Linked DNA regions of Homo sapiens: region 1 is linked to region 2. The links are contacts of gene promoters, found by promoter capture Hi-C in blood cells and fetal thymus (Javierre and others, 2016). All regions are on one chromosome and are shown on one strand. Each heading gives the region's core, a stretch centred on a gene start or on the middle of the fragment in contact. The rest is flanking DNA. Distances are from core to core; before and after follow the strand shown.

Region 1 (5,811 bases), core at 3,299-5,798, 190 kb before region 2:
TAGTGGCTCATTGCCTGTAATCCCAGCACTTTGGGAGGCCAAGATGGGCAGATCACCTGAGGTCAGGAGTTCGAAACCAGCCTGGCCAACATGGTGAAACACCATCTTTTCTAAAAATATAAAAATTAGCTGGGCGTGGTGGCACTCACCTGTAATCCCAGCTACTCGGGAGGCTGAGGCAGGAGAATCGCTTGAACCCAGGAGGCAGAGACTGCAGTGAACTGAGATGGTGTCACTGCACTCCAGCCTGGGCAACAGAGCGAGACTCCATCTCAAAAAAAAAAAAAATTCTGTTGACTTTTTTTTTTTTTTGAGACAAAGAGTCTCGCACTGTCACCTGGGCTGGAGTGCAATGGTGAGATCTCAGTTCACTACAACATCCCCCTCCCAGGTTCACGAGATTCTCCTGCCTCAGCCTCCTGAGTAGCTGGGATACAGGCGTACACCACCACACCTGGCTAATTTTTTGTATTTTTAGTAGAAATGGGGTTTTATTATGTTGGTCAGACTGGTCTCAAACTCCTGACCTCATGATCCGCCTGCCTCAGCCTCCCAAAACGGTGGGATTACAGGTGTGAGCCACCACGCCCGGCGACATTTTCATCATTCTTTATAAGGGAAATAAATCCCTCAGGTCAAAACAAGGGGCTCTGGGTGGCCGGGGTGGAAAGGGGAGGACAGGGCCTCATTTAGCAGCCCCAGCTGCTCCAGTCAGGAGACAGACTAGAAAGAAAATGAGGAAATGAATGAACAAAAAAGAATAAATGAAAAACAGGTATCCACATCGGGGACCTACAGAGGTTAACTTCCAACCTGCCAGAAAAGCTAAGAGCTATTTATGTGGAGTCTTGGCCATGCCCCAGGAAGTTACAGACGGGAGTCTGTTCAGACCTCCTTGGCTCAGCTCTCTAGGGCTCGAGTAAACGTAGTCTAGGTGAGACTGCAGGGCTTACTGTGAAAGTGGCTCCTACCCGCAGGTGTAACCTTCTGAGGGCCCACTCACCACACCACGATCGCCCAGGTCCAAAGCATCCCAGGTGAAGCCCTGGGGCAGGGTGTAGGGCTCCTGGCGGATATTGTCCTTGTCAGGCTCCACGGGGCCATGGGTGTTCACCACTTCGCCTGAAAGAAGAGCACAGCTGTGAGCCTCACCCTTTGCCCCCTCGGGGCAGTAAAGGGCTCAGTTCAAAACTCAACCAGAGCAAATTCCTCCTGTCCCTAGGAGCCCTCTATCTGAAGAACATTCTGTGCTTGGCAACTGCAAACCGTCTTTCCAGCTACCCTTAGCCCCTAACTGAGGGCCAATTCATGGCAAAACCTCAGGACAATCACTGGGATCCAAGGTGGTTCGTGTTTTGGAAATCCATTTAAATCTCCCTTGGGTCACTGAATGACAAACATTTATCTTTAGTAATTTGGCTTCCTGCCTCCTGGTTGGTGTAAAGAGTGCTGTCAGGGCCCTGGCCCAGGCCCATCAGTCTGGATGGGTTTGTAAGGAGTCACAACAAGGCTGCTTTTGTGTCAACAGCAACAACAATGTACTGGGCCCATTTCTGAACCAGATGATGGCTTCTAGGCGCCAGGCTCAATCGTGGCCCTGCCAGCCTTGGCTTTCAGCAGCGTGAGCCAGTTAACTGCTACTGCCAACTCAGGCCCTCAGTGTTTAGAGTCCTGCAAGTGCCTTTGGGCTGAATCACCAAGTCTACATAGTGCTGCCGGGAAGTCACCCTGACACAACATCCCCTCCCTGAGCAGGATAGGCCCCTCCTCTGTGGGAGCATGTGGGGAGTGCTCCAAAGACACAGCCCTCATTCCTATCCAGAGCTCAATCGGACTCATATATGCTGAGAGATTCACCACTGAATTCTGGCCCTTGGGATGATTTCGGTTCTACAATGGGCTCACTCATGTTTACACTGGGAAGAATGCAATGTTTAGTGCATTTTGGAAAATGGAGTCTTCAAAAGGGACCAACCCAGTAACAGTGTTCCTAGCAAAGGGCTCTGTATAGACTAGGCACTCAATTCATGCTTTTACTGACTTTCAGACTCCTGATCCCAAATATTTTTTTTTTCTTTTCTTTTCTTTTTTTTTTTTTTGAGACAGTCTCATTCTGTCGCCCAGGTTGGAGTACAGTGGTGCGATCTTGGCTCACTGCAACCTTCACCTCCCTGGTTCAAGCAATTCTCCTGCCTCAGACTCCCGAGTGGCTGGAATTACAGGTGTCCGCCACCACGCTGGCTAATTTTGGTGTTTTGTTTTTTTTTTTTCAGTAGAGATGGAGTTTCACCATGTTGGCCAGGCTGGTTTCAAACCCCTGGCCTCAAGTGATCCACCCGCCTCGGCCTCCCAAAGTCCAAACATTTCATTCTAACATGTAACAGGAAGCTCTAGACCTTCCCAGAATGATAATCTGTGGGGCAAGTGTGGTGGAAAGGGCTGCATCAGGCTGCAGCACACGACACCACCGCTGGCACTGATCATCTCACCCTCTTCCATCAGACACATTACTGAGCACCAACCGTGCACCAGTGACTCAGTGACCATGCCAGCCCCTAGTGTACAGCAGGAAAAAGGACCAAGTCCCTGTCCTCATGAGACATACCATCTTCTGGGGAAATAGTAAATAAATGAGTCATTATCCACGTGCTGCAGGTCAGGATCTGGAAAGTGCAGGGACACACAACAGGGAAGCAGCCTGCTCTGTTGGTAATCAGGCTTCCCAACAGGTTTGCTTGGGAGAGAGGTCATATTTTTCTTCCCTAGTTAGGAAACTCATGACTGGCGAGATGGGGTCTTGCTCTGTTGCCCAGGCTGGAATGCAGTGGCGTAACCTTGGTTCACTACAGCCTCGACCTCCTAGGCCCAAACGATCCTCCCATCTCAGCCTCTCGAGTGGTTGGGACTATAGGCATGCGCCACTACGCCTGGCTAATTTTATTTTTCATAGAGATGAGGTCTCACTGTTGCCCAGGCTGGTCTCAAACTCCTAGACTCAAGTGATCCTCCTGCCTTGGCCTCCCAAAATGCTGGGATTATAGCATGAGCCACGGCGCCCAGCCAAAACCCACCATTTGATTATTCATAAAGTAGCTCTTGTGAATTTAAGTCAATCCGCTTCCAACTGACAGCTATGTATATTAAAAAAACATTTTTGAGCCTACAAAACTGAGGGCCAGACCCTCTAGTCTTATCTAGGTGCTAATTTCCCAACTTGTATTGAATTTATACCTTTTCCTATACACTTCAGAACCTTCTTTTTTTCCCCCTGAATTATTTCCATGGCCAAGAATACTGATGGTCTTCCCTATTGTACTAAAATAACCTCAAGGCTAAATCTTCTCATTTAGGCTGGCTACTAGGTCCTACACGCAACAGGCACTTCCATTCACTCACTCCTTCACCAAGTGTTCACTGAATCCTAGAATGTGCCAGTTCTGTGGCAGGGGCTGGCGAATGAAACAGACACAGGTCCTCACCATCATGGACACCAAAGAGATGAGCAAGGATGCACATGCCACCCGGCATGGTGAGGGCCAGTAAGAATGAAGTACAGGGTGCTATGGGACGTGTGTGTGTGTGTGTGTGTGTGTGTGTGTGTGTGTGTGTGTGTGTGTGTCAGGAAAGACCTCTCAGAGGAAATATCTAACGACAAGACCTCAAGGATAATTAGGAATCAGCCAGGCTGCAGGTGGACTATGTGGGGCAGGGTGGGTGTGAAAAAGTAGAGCTACAGGAAACACTGAAAAGGGAGCAGCCACTTTTACTAGACTCCCACTGTGGAGTGCCCTCGATGCCAAGAAGCAGCCCAAGGCTCCTGTGCTGTCCTCGGTGTGGTGCCAGCATCATGGCCTCTGCTTGTCCTGCTCTGTGGGGAGCAGCCTGCCTTCTCCCTTACAATGGCCTTTGAGTACCTCCTGCTGAGCAGGGGTGGAAGGCTGCTCTGCAGAGCACAGCAAGAATGCAGCTGATTCTCTCAAGGCCAACATGAACCAATAAATGACTAAGGATGACACTTCGAACTTGCTTTAAAAGAATCTGGAAGTTTAAAGAAAACCCTGAGCTTTCAATGGGTTTCTTTCTGCACACTCTTCCCTCAAAATTCTCTCCATGACATCAAACATCAGAGACCCAAAACTAAGCAATGCGGTGCAACTGTGAAGGACTTCGGAGAAATGAGAATGTCTGAGATGCGGAAAACATTAAACCAAACAAAGGCCAAGGAGAGGAAAAAGAGAGGGGAAGCTTCTCTCTGGGACCCATGGAAACCAGGTGAGTGCACATCCTCCCTTTGATAGTGACTTTTTAAAACAGAGTGGCCACACTGCATTCCACTGACCAAAGACAGAAAAGGATACTGCTTCCGTTGACATGAGTGGGAAAGGGGTGACTTTAAAAAGAAGAACGACATGATCTCGAGTGGGGGATCAAAAGTTCATCTGCGGCTCTTACAGTTGTTACACAGACTAAAACACTTCTGCTAAGAAGGCCTTTCATTTTTATTTATTTATTTTTTAATCTTTGAGACAGGGACTCGCTTTGTCACCCAGGCTAGAGTGCAGTGGCACGATCATGGCTCACTACAGCCTCGACCTCCAGGACTCAAACGATCCTCCCACCTCAGTCTCCTGAGAAACTGGGACCATAGGCATGTGCTACCATGTCTGGCTAATTTTTAAATTTTTTTGTAGAGACGAGGTCTTTCCCTGTTGTCCAGGCTGGTCTTGAGCTGCTGGGCTCAAGCAATCCTCCTGCCTTGGCCTCCCAAAGTGCTGGGATTACAGGCATTGAGCCACTACACCCGGCCTAAGAAGGCCTTTCCATGGTAAACCTAGGATAATTTTAAGCTTCTAAAGAATTGCAGGTCTCAGTCAGGTGCAGTGGCTCACGCCTATAATCCCAGCACTTTGGGAGGCTAAGACAGGAGGACAGCTTGAGCCTAGGAGTTTGAGACCAGCCTGGTCAACATAGTGAAACCATGTCTCCACAAAAAATTTAAAAATTAGCCAGGCATGTGGCAGGCACCTGTAGTCCCAGCTACTCAGGAGGCTAAGGTGGGAGGATTGCTTGAGCCCAGGAGATCAAGGCTGCAGTGAGCCATGATCATACCACTGCACTCCAGCCTGGGCAGCAGAGCGAGATCCTGTCTCAAGAAAATAAAAGAGAGGGCCGGGTGCGGTAGCTCATGCCTGTAATCCTAGCACTTTGGGAGGCCAAGGCACGTGGATCACGAGGTCAGGAGTTCAAGACCAGCCTGGCCAAGATGGTGAAACCCTGTCTCTACTAAAAATACAAAAATTAGCCGGGCGTGGTGGTGGGCACCTGTAATCCCAACTACTCGGGAGGCTGAGGCAGAGAACTGCTTGAACCTGGGAGGCAGAGGTTGCAGTGAGCCGAGAAAACGCCACTGCACTCCAGCCTGGGCGACAGAGTGAGACTCTGTCTCATAAATAAATAAATAAATCAGAGAGACTTGTAGGTTTCTTTAGTGGAATACCATCTAATTAAAACTCTCCCAAGAAGGTGGAGAGTACTGTAAAAACACAGTGCAGCTGATATGCACGAGATTTATAATCATTAGTCCTCCAATTAAGTGAAAAAAAAATTAGGGCAAGAAGCTGTAGGTACCACCACCCCTGAGAAAACTCAGAACTAGGGTGACGCCTCAGCCATGCAGGCTAACACGCCTGCCAAGGTGGCACTTTTTACAGGCTGACACAAACACAGGAATCTAACTGGGGCTTGACTGACCCTGGACCTCAAAGGCAGACTAGTCAGATGCTCAGGGTGACTGCTCTTCCATGGAGTCCG
Region 2 (5,314 bases), core at 2,583-5,082:
GTATTTGATCATTTGTTGATTACATGTCCATTCATTGGTTTGGGGCTATAAACATTCTTGTTAAGAGCTGTGGAGATCAGTGTTTGTTTACCATAAAGATTTTGCTTTTTCCCTTTTATGAGTGGAGGCTGTAACTGGTATAGCCAGCATTTGGTTGGGCACACACTCATCTCTCAAGGCCAGTGGGCTAGAGGCTTGGCAGACTCTAAGGGTGGGAAACAAAACCGCTCTCAACTTCCTGAGCTCTTGACTGTCCATGGATACACACAGTTCAAAACAGCGAGACACTGAGGGACTGGAGAAGTGGGGAAGACTTGATTCCTGTTTTTGCTCTGAAAATTCCAAGTTGAGAAGGGAACCAGGTGTGGGTTTCTTATTATGGTCCTGCAGAACCCCCAAGACAACAACCAAAAAACTGCCTCCAGTGACCACTGGGACCTCTGAGGGTAGCTTGCCGCATCAGTCAACCTGGTACAGCTCCAGCAGCTCCTGCAGGAGCCTCTCCTCCTCCTGGAGCCCACCAGACTGCTCCTCCAGACCCTGCTCCTCCCAGCTGAGCCCCTCCTTCACGGATCTGGGGTTGCCCATGGCTTGCAGCTTCTGAAACAAGCCCTTGCAGCTCTCTCTCTCTGCCCGGCTCAGCAGGCTTAGGTTCAGGGTGAAGCGCCCAGTGCTCGCCAGGCTGCATAGGATCCCCAGCACCGCTGCCCGGTCAGCCGGCCCCACGTGATCAGCCAGTGCCACCAGCAGCTCCCCAAGAAGTCCAAATCCCACATCTGTCTGGAAGAGGCAGCCGAGCCTTGGACCCCCAAGCTGCAGTAGAGCCTGGTAGCGCTCTGGCCCACTTGGCAAGTGTCGTCGCCAATCACGATAGAAGTCAGCAGACGTCTCGGGCTGGAGGGGGGCTTTCTCCTGGACCACAAAGGAAGGAAAGGGAGTCAGGAGCTCTTCCAGCTGTTCTGCAACAGTGACAGGGAGGGGAGCCTGTAGCTCTTCATCTTACTGTCTTCATCTCACTACTGTCTGAGCACTGGGAAAGCTGTGGTCCTTGGCGGCCTCATTTTCAGATGAGGAAACTGGGGATGAAACAGGGAGGGCCCCAAGGAATCCACGCCATGATTTGAGATTCTCATTTATACTGGAATTTTCCTACTCATGAATGGAGACATAGCTCTGGTCTTCAAGAGTAAGTCAGGGTTTACTGTAAGTCGGGTGGATGGGTTGATTGGAAATCTCAGGAAGAGAGAAAGGAACTCAAGGATCTGAATGTTGGGGTCTCTCTCTCAACACTGCCACAGGATCATTACACTAGACACCATACAACCCAGAGGCAGAGCATCCCAATTCTGATCTGAGAATGAAAGTCAAAGGACTAAGGGAAGCCGACCTTCCTAGCCCAACTTTCTGACTCATTCTGCCCACTTCAACTCAGCTTTGCCATCTGCTGTTTGTTTTTCTTTCTGGGATTGGAGGCAGAAACCTATCTCTGTTGGTTTAACATGACAAATAAAGAAGAGGTATGTGTGGTTAAAAAAACAAAACAAAACAAAACAAAATGAAAAAACAGGATTGAAGCTTTAGGGCAGAGAATCCTGCTGGACTAAAGGGGCAGGGCCTCACCTACCGGGGAGATTTCAGTGGCCACATCCTGGAAGGTCCTTCCCTGAATAGTGTGACAGTTCCAGGGCACAGTTCTCTTTCCTCCCATCTTATCCTTCCGCTCCAGTGGCTTCAGATGTGATGCAAGGACAATACCCCTGTAGGCAAAGGACAGAAATTAGGCAATGGACTTAATGCTGTGTCTGTGGGTGTGAGGCAGCTAGACTTTGCATGGTATAGGATAAACCTGTTACGGACCAATATGACCATAATAATAACAACAGCGATAGCTGACTGCTTTCAAGCACCTCACATGTGTCAGACACTTGCTCAGTCTTATGTGCAAGAACTCATTTAATTATAACAGTTACTGTTCTACAGATAAATAATTGAGACTCAGAGAAGTTAAGGAAATTGCATAAGATCAAACAGTAGACGGTGGGGCCAGGACTGAAGCCCAGAATGGTTTGATTTCAGAGTTAACTACTATAATCCACCATAACAGGAGGGCCTGAGAAAAATGGCAGTGAGCCAACCTGAACTCCTCATAGGAAGCCACCCTCTGTTCCACTGCCCGTAACTTGGCAGCATTCTCCCGTTTGTACTTCTCATCAGCAGTGAGTGCAGCCTGCAGCTCTTTCTCCAAAGCCTTGAAGTTGATGATGTCATTCCTTTCCATGGCCTGTGCCTGGGAAGGCAAAGGGAATACATGTCAGTGGACAGTCAATATCAGGGGAAAGAGGGTACCTCTGAATTATTCACCAGAACACAAAATGACCCCAAAGCACTCTGGACATCATGTCACTCAGATTGGGAGGTGTTACAAAAATCTGGTTTTCTATTTTACAAAGACAAGTTGAATTTCACAGTGAGGACTTACACAAGACTTGTCCCTGAAAATAGAATACAGAGTCCTGACTTTCAATTTGGAGTTCTGTCTTAATTTTGCTCTTTGCCTCTAAAAATATTTTTAATTTTGGTGCTTCAGTCGAGGAGGCATTGGGATCTCAGAATTCAGTTTCTTCACTCTTCCCCCATAGGATTGTTCTACAGCAAGTCGTTTCGACAGGGGACCTCACACAAAGGCAGAACTCTTGTTAGTTACCCTTGAGCTCGGGGATAAAGTTTCATTCTTCATTGAATGTCTTTAATGAGGAAGGAGACTTTCACCCAAACCAGATGCAATGACTGAGCAGGAAATCAAGTAGAAGGGGCAAAGGAAGGAGCTCAATGACCCCATCCCCAAATCCCTCTGTCCAGCCCAGGGCTGGAACAGAGGTCCCTAGGTACCTGGGCAATGCCTTTAGTTCTATCACTGTACTTCTGTAGTTTCTGCATATCTGAGGCTGACTGATCATTTCTACAGAGATATTCTTTTCTTTTTTTTTTTTTCTGGCTCTGTTGCCCAGGCTGGAGTGCAGTGGCGCGATCTTGGCTCATTGCAACCTCTGCCTCCGGGGTTCAAGCAATTTTCGATCCTGACCTCAAGTAATCCGCGCGCCTCGGCCTCCCAAAGTGCTGGGATTACAGGCGTGAGCCACTGCAGAGAGATTCTCTACGTGGGTTCTAGTCGTGGCTCTGGCATTTACTTGTGGGACCTCTCTGAACTGCAAACTCCTAGTGAGTTGAGCTAGATTTTGTGGCGGGGTCATCACCAACAGCCCTAGCGCAAGGAAGCAGGAAGTCCCCAACCAATCCCATAGCCACCCTACCCCAACGTAGGGAATCTGAACGCCAAGAAGGGGCTGGGGTGGCCAGTAACCGAAATCAGGTGTCCAGTTCTCAGCCCTCCCCAGGCATTTAATACATAGAACTAACCCTTCCGTCCCCTTACTCAGCCTCCCGGACCTTCACCCCAGCAGTCCCGGCCTTGGTCCCCTTGCTTTCTTTGGGGATCCCCTGATAAACCAGAACAGGAGGGCAACCCCGCGCAGACCACGCCCGCAGCTGTGGTTGCCTAGCAACTGCGCTAACAGCCTGACCACGTGATCTGCCCGAAGGCCCCTCCCCCCATTTTCAGGGTGGTCCCGAGGCGCCTGATCAGATTCGTTCATCCTCAGCTCTCACCCTCTTTGGAGCAGCCCACGTCTTGGGCTACTCGTCTTGGGGACCCGCTACTCCGCCTTGCCAGTCCGCGGCGGGCATACCTCGGAACTGGTCCTCAGGCAGAGGGTTGTCCTCCCGGGCAGAAAGGCGACAGCGGCGTCTGCGGGGTCCTTCCTGGCGGCGGGCGCAGGCGTTTCCTCGGCGTGGGGCGGAAGCACGATCTCCGGCAGCGGCCTGGGAACTCTTAGCTGAGCAGGCGAGAGGTAAGTTGAAGCGGGTCAGCGGCACGGAAGGGTTGCTCCAGGTGGGATAGGAAATTAAAAAGCGTCAGATCTGGAAGGGGCCTTATATGCTATTGGCCCCTTTCGCTTTACGGATCGGTAAATTGAGGCCTGGAGCGGGAAAAAGAATGGAAGACCCTGTCGTCCTCGTGCCTTCCCAAGGCTTCCGAAGCGCGCACACACGCACACACCTCGATTTCGGGGCTGCCTCTATAGCCTCAGTCCGTAAAATCGTATCGCTAGGTAGGAGTGGTGCTCTAACTGTCCAGTCCCCTCGCTCACTTCCTCTTCTATCCGTGCCGCTTTCAGCCGTTCTTTGCCAAGTTCCCTCCGAAGTCCTCTGAGCTCCTGCATTGTAGCGGGAAGCGGCAGTGAGGTTTGTTACCATGAGTCGCTAGTTTTGTGTAACTGTGGGCAAATCAGCTATATTCTGTGTACCTTGTTAGAGTCATTCATTAGTTCAGTAAATACTTATTGAGGGCTTAGTCTATGCTAGGCACAGTACTAAGTGAACAAAGTCTTTGCTTCAATTGTAGTTGGGGAAATGAACAGTAAACAACTAGATACAAGTCAGCTAGTGATAAATGTATAACATTTGTGAATAGCAATAAAACAGTGAAAGTGGGAAGTTGGAGAGTATGTATGGGGGACTTTTTAGAGTGACAGAGAAGATGACATTTTAGTGGAGACTTGATTGAAATAAAGGAACAAGGTGAAAAATATCAAAGGGGAGAGCGTTTTGGACAAAGAGAAAGGCAAGTGCAGTGGCCCTGAGGCAGAAATGAGCTTGGCTTGTTCCATGAACAGCTTTCTATAACAGTTTCTTCAATCGGCCGGGCGCGGTGGCTCACGCCTGTAATCCCAGCACTTTGGGAGAAAGACGCGGGCGGATCACCTGAGGTCAGGAGTTCGAGACCAGCCTGGCCAACATGGTGAAAACCCATCTCTACTAAGAATACAAAAAAATTAGCCAGGCGTAGTGGTGCACTCCTGTAGTCCCAACTACTCGGGAGGCTGAGGCAGGAGAATCGCTTGAAACCAGGAGGCGGAGGTTGCAGTGAACTGAGATCGTGCCGTTGTACTCCAGCCTGGGCAACAAGAGCAAAACTCTGTCTCAAAAAATATATATAAAATAAATAAATAATTTCTTCAATCCCTTGACTGGGGTCTTGGGAGAATGAGATAAGCATAAATGCGATAGTAGCTTTTTAGAAGTAAAAAGAATATGCATGTGAAAGTTTCCATAATAATTTACATTTAATTATTGGTCCTTGGAGCTCCAATTCTCTCTCTACATTCAGCACCCAGCAGGTGGCATTGAGGGAGTTGGAGGTATCAGTCTAATCCAAGAAATATCAGCATCTTAAAATTAAACATCCCATTCAGTT

Evidence for each region. The method cuts DNA at HindIII sites, captures the fragments that hold promoters and counts their contacts. A CHiCAGO score of 5 or more calls a contact.
Region 1: a contact is called between a fragment that was not itself captured here and the fragment with the promoter of EFTUD2 in region 2, in 2 of 17 cell types (endothelial precursors and erythroblasts). The highest score is 6.4, in endothelial precursors.

Annotation. Positions count from the first base shown.
Region 1 is chr17:45,088,996-45,094,806 of GRCh38, reverse strand. It overlaps NMT1 (N-myristoyltransferase 1), which reads right to left. Exons shown (of 12, transcript NM_021079.5): 4 at 1,004-1,122. Among named protein-coding and RNA genes, the nearest start is that of MIR6784, 23 kb to the left of the region's middle. RefSeq lists an enhancer at 3,582-4,083. The HindIII fragment of the contact is 602 bases long and covers 4,248-4,849 here.
Region 2 is chr17:44,897,963-44,903,276 of GRCh38, reverse strand. EFTUD2 (elongation factor Tu GTP binding domain containing 2) reads left to right here and starts at 3,832. Exons shown (of 28, transcript NM_004247.4): 1 at 3,832-3,908. DNAAF19 (dynein axonemal assembly factor 19) reads right to left here and starts at 3,548. Exons shown (of 4, transcript NM_213607.3): 1 at 3,418-3,548; 2 at 2,136-2,287; 3 at 1,625-1,757; 4 at 1-912. The coding sequence starts at 2,278. The coding sequence ends at 460. It overlaps GFAP (glial fibrillary acidic protein), which reads left to right. Exons shown (of 9, transcript NM_002055.5): 9 at 1-118. The HindIII fragment of the contact is 5,429 bases long and covers 1,578-5,314 here.